Regions from separate parts of the Homo sapiens genome. Here region 1 is linked to region 2. Evidence: promoter capture Hi-C in human tissues and cell types (Jung and others, 2019). All regions are on one chromosome and are shown on one strand. Each heading gives the region's core, a stretch centred on a gene start or on the middle of the fragment in contact. The rest is flanking DNA. Distances are from core to core; before and after follow the strand shown. Region 1 overlaps B4GALT6 (beta-1,4-galactosyltransferase 6). Region 2 holds the start of TTR (transthyretin).

Region 1 (2,700 bases), core at 162-2,661, 84 kb after region 2:
CCAGATTATATATGAAATATTATTCATACTACACCTAGGACTAAGGAAGGTATTACTTGGATTAAAAACAAAAAATAACAAATGTCAAGGATGTGCCAGGCTGTTTAAAAAAAAAAAAATTCTTTTATGTCAAAGTACTATTTGACCATGGTGACAATAATTCAAAACCATGTATGAACTCAAGGAAATCTGCAGTGCAAATTATTACTAACATATAATATCCTTACCTCTACTTTTCAAGTTATAAGCTGACAGAGTCTGCAAGAATTCTGTGTTCAGAGCCCCACTTTATCAAACAACAAATACAATGATCACATACAGGAGATCTATTTCAGATCTTAGCTAACAACTCAAGCTTTGCAGATGCAAATACTAAAAACTGACAAGAAATTCTTTGTAAAAGGTGTCTTTACAATTTCCACTCTGCAGTTTAACAATTTTAAGTTATTTCTGGAGAATCTTTGTGTTTGAATACTGATCAAGGTTAAACATTTTTAAATGAAAACTGACTTTTCCAATGATCTTACTAAAAATGTTCAGGGTGGAAACATGTTTATCCACATGTTTATTGAGTGTCTGCCGTTTACCAAGCAATGCCAAAAGTTAAGGGGCCATCTGGCTTCCTCTGTAAAGAACCAAGATCCTGCAAAGGCACAAACTGTCTAAAACATCAGAAGGACTTTTCCAACAACCAGATCATTAGTTCAGCCTACTTTAACCCTAGTTGATAATTCAAAAAGTAGACTCTGAACCTAGTGATATGAAAACACTATCTAACAAAAGATAACTATCAGCCTTGTCATCTGCTAATGCACTGTGTAATTCACTTAAAATAATAACTATATAGCTTTTTTAAAGCATGACAGGAACCCTAAGAGAGTTATGAACCACACTGGGGAAAGTGGAATCAGGAGGAAATGAAGAAATCAAGGAAGGAAGAATGCAGGAAATTAAACAGATCTTAAAAATCTAATCAGGAAACTAACTTAATGACATTACAGACTAAAAGACCAAGCCATAAATAAGCAGGCCCAGGAAACATTATAAAATTGTTGAAAATTAGTGATGTCAGAGTATATAAGTGTACAGTATATAAGAAGTCTATCAAAATGAAGTAAAATGTGAACTATTTGAATATGTTTTATAATCACCTCCAATTTACTTGTGTTTTCACAATTAAAATACCTTTCAGAATTCCAACTTAGTATTCATGAAAGGAAAATGAGCCTAAAATGAGAATCAGAGAAGGGAACTGGGTAGGAAATGAATTTCAAAGACTTCCAAAGCATATTTTCAAATCAGTAAACAAGGCACCTTTTAATTCTCTACCTTTGGTCTCTTGATTCAAATGAAAATAATGTCCAATTTCTCTTCCTATGAGTCAAACTGAAAATTGCACTATAATTAGAAGTCATAATTTCTGAGCAATTAACTTAATTATCAGGAAGGCAATACACGTAACAAGATTTCAGTAAAATCATATTAACACTTGCCTCAAATATATAAAAACAGGCCATAGTATTCAATCAAGATATCATGTCATAGTAACAAACTTCATATAGCTACTTAAATATACCACTGTAAAGATATTATAAAAATGACTTTTCTAGCCAAATGCTAGGAAATGCTTTGAAATTACTTCCACTGAGTAACCTATAATGCTATCCAGTTTAATAAGTTTTATTGATCTTAAGTAAATTACAATGTCTCTAATAATTAAAAACACTAAATAACAAATTTAGGATGACCTAGGACCCAATCACCTAGTCACTGCAGACTCATAAAGGAACACATGATCCTGGTTGGTATGAATAATGTATCCGTCCATTTCTCTTCTGAAGGAAAAGATTCTTCACCATGACAGCCATCTCTATTGCCAGTAAAACATGATGTTATAAACAAGTTAATCAGGTTTTCAGTAAGTAAGATTAGTTCTATGAAATATCAAATGATGTAAGATAATCAATTTAGAAAAGTATGTAGCACTATTTTTTCCCCACCATTTGGGGTATTTTTCAGAAACATCGCTCCCAGTGTGCAGAAACATCTGGGTACGTGTTAAAAATTAATCAGAATCAGAATCTCCCATAAGACCTGGGAAATAAGCTTATTAAAGCATATCACCTTAAATAAACCTTAAGCACATTCATATTTGAAAACTATTTCTTGTAGTAATTCTCCACACATAACATTTGTAACAAGTAAAACAGTAGACCCTTCCTTCCAAATCAGTTTAACTTATATTAAATATATCTTCTTTTACATAGCTTTTGAATATACCACAATTCATTTGGACATAAGAGTATCTGTGTTTCATCCTTAATGAACACATAACACAACAATTTGGTGAAGCCAAAGACTTTCACTAATTCAAGTAATTAAACATAAAAACAAAGATGCAAGCAAAAAGCCATACTACACTTCTGGAGGAAAAAAAATAAAACATTAAGATTTGAAATTACTAAGTATATTTTCCTAAACATTTTGCTGTGCTTCACAGCCAAAAATATAATTACTGACATAAACATCCTTTAAGCTAACTCTCCTATTTCAACTGAGAAGGGGGTATTGCTGTATCTTAAACCAAACTCAGCTAAATTTTGCTAAAACCAAAAACAATTATGTCCACAGGCAGTCTAACCATGAAACATAGCAAATCAAACTGGCCTAATACAGGATGTAAATGCTGAAGAAAAACAG
Region 2 (2,700 bases), core at 201-2,700:
AATTTCTTGTTGAATTTTTTCTAATCTGACTCTATCAGTTATGGGAATGTTCCCTCAATTCTTAGTGCTCCAAACCGGACTTGCTCTTGGCTTGTATTTGTCCAAAATATTTGTCTTCTCTATGTTTTCTACATGTTTGTCTTATAAGGACAAAAACCTGCCTTAGTTTATCCATGAACAAAGCCACGCATGCTAGTGGACACACACACACATGCGCGTGCGCGCGCACACACACACACACACACATACACACAGAGACTTTGTATGTGAGTAATGAATCATCAAATCATCATAATTTCTGGACTTGTATTAATAAGTCGGCCAGGAGGAAAAGAATCTGCTGTCAATCATGGCTTCTGGTTCTCACAGTCATCTCTACTTTCTTCCAGCAAGTTTGGTTCTGTCAAAAACCAGCTGTCAGCCTTGTTCCTGCATGCCCAATGCAGAAGAGTCAGTAAAGAAGATTTGGTTCTCTGTATTTCAGGGGCATCAATGCCAGGTTGAAATATGCCATTCTGGCCCAGCTCAGTGGCTCACACGTGTAATCCCAGCACTTTGGAAGGCCAAAGCGGGTGGATTGCTTGAGCTCAGGAGTTCGAGACCAGCCTGGGCAAGAGGCTGAGGTGGGAGGATGACCTGAGCCCGGGAGGTCAAGGCTGCAGCGAGCTGTGATCGTGCCACTGCACTCGAGCCAGGGCGTTGGAGTGAGACCCTGTCAAAAAAAAAAAAAAAAAGGAAGGAAAAAAGGAAGGAAGGAAGGGAGGGAGGGAAGATGCCATTCTTAGATTGAAGTGGACTTTATCTGGGCAGAACACACACACACATACACACATGCACACACACATTGTGGAGAAATTGCTGACTAAGCAAAGCTTCCAAATGACTTAGTTTGGCTAAAATGTAGGCTTTTAAAAATGTGAGCACTGCCAAGGGTTTTTCCTTGTTGACCCATGGATCCATCAAGTGCAAACATTTTCTAATGCACTATATTTAAGCCTGTGCAGCTAGATGTCATTCAACATGAAATACATTATTACAACTTGCATCTGTCTAAAATCTTGCATCTAAAATGAGAGACAAAAAATCTATAAAAATGGAAAACATGCATAGAAATATGTGAGGGAGGAAAAAATTACCCCCAAGAATGTTAGTGCACGCAGTCACACAGGGAGAAGACTATTTTTGTTTTGTTTTGATTGTTTTGTTTTGTTTTGGTTGTTTTGTTTTGGTGACCTAACTGGTCAAATGACCTATTAAGAATATTTCATAGAACGAATGTTCCGATGCTCTAATCTCTCTAGACAAGGTTCATATTTGTATGGGTTACTTATTCTCTCTTTGTTGACTAAGTCAATAATCAGAATCAGCAGGTTTGCAGTCAGATTGGCAGGGATAAGCAGCCTAGCTCAGGAGAAGTGAGTATAAAAGCCCCAGGCTGGGAGCAGCCATCACAGAAGTCCACTCATTCTTGGCAGGATGGCTTCTCATCGTCTGCTCCTCCTCTGCCTTGCTGGACTGGTATTTGTGTCTGAGGCTGGCCCTACGGTGAGTGTTTCTGTGACATCCCATTCCTACATTTAAGATTCACGCTAAATGAAGTAGAAGTGACTCCTTCCAGCTTTGCCAACCAGCTTTTATTACTAGGGCAAGGGTACCCAGCATCTATTTTTAATATAATTAATTCAAACTTCAAAAAGAATGAAGTTCCACTGAGCTTACTGAGCTGGGACTTGAACTCTGAGCATTCTACCTCATTGCTTTGGTGCATTAGGTTTGTAATATCTGGTACCTCTGTTTCCTCAGATAGATGATAGAAATAAAGATATGATATTAAGGAAGCTGTTAATACTGAATTTTCAGAAAAGTATCCCTCCATAAAATGTATTTGGGGGACAAACTGCAGGAGATTATATTCTGGCCCTATAGTTATTCAAAACGTATTTATTGATTAATCTTTAAAAGGCTTAGTGAACAATATTCTAGTCAGATATCTAATTCTTAAATCCTCTAGAAGAATTAACTAATACTATAAAATGGGTCTGGATGTAGTTCTGACATTATTTTATAACAACTGGTAAGAGGGAGTGACTATAGCAACAACTAAAATGATCTCAGGAAAACCTGTTTGGCCCTATGTATGGTACATTACATCTTTTCAGTAATTCCACTCAAATGGAGACTTTTAACAAAGCAACTGTTCTCAGGGGACCTATTTTCTCCCTTAAAATTCATTATACACATCCCTGGTTGATAGCAGTGTGTCTGGAGGCAGAAACCATTCTTGCTTTGGAAACAATTACGTCTGTGTTATACTGAGTAGGGAAGCTCATTAATTGTCGACACTTACGTTCCTGATAATGGGATCAGTGTGTAATTCTTGTTTCGCTCCAGATTTCTAATACCACAAAGAATAAATCCTTTCACTCTGATCAATTTTGTTAACTTCTCACGTGTCTTCTCTACACCCAGGGCACCGGTGAATCCAAGTGTCCTCTGATGGTCAAAGTTCTAGATGCTGTCCGAGGCAGTCCTGCCATCAATGTGGCCGTGCATGTGTTCAGAAAGGCTGCTGATGACACCTGGGAGCCATTTGCCTCTGGGTAAGTTGCCAAAGAACCCTCCCACAGGACTTGGTTTTATCTTCCCGTTTGCCCCTCACTTGGTAGAGAGAGGCTCACATCATCTGCTAAAGAATTTACA

What was found. Contacts are between HindIII fragments. The study calls those that stand out against the background at their distance.
Region 1: a contact is called between a fragment that was not itself captured here and the fragment with the promoter of TTR in region 2, in 2 of the 25 tissues and cell types used here (lymphoblastoid cells and thymus).

Annotation. Positions count from the first base shown.
Region 1 is chr18:31,674,748-31,677,447 of GRCh38, forward strand. All of the region lies in intron 1 of B4GALT6 (beta-1,4-galactosyltransferase 6), which reads right to left. Among named protein-coding and RNA genes, the nearest start is that of B4GALT6, 8.5 kb to the right of the region's middle. The HindIII fragment of the contact is 5,260 bases long and covers 1-2,700 here.
Region 2 is chr18:31,590,427-31,593,126 of GRCh38, forward strand. TTR (transthyretin) reads left to right here and starts at 1,451. Exons shown (of 4, transcript NM_000371.4): 1 at 1,451-1,545; 2 at 2,470-2,600. The coding sequence starts at 1,477. The HindIII fragment of the contact is 7,126 bases long and covers 1-2,700 here.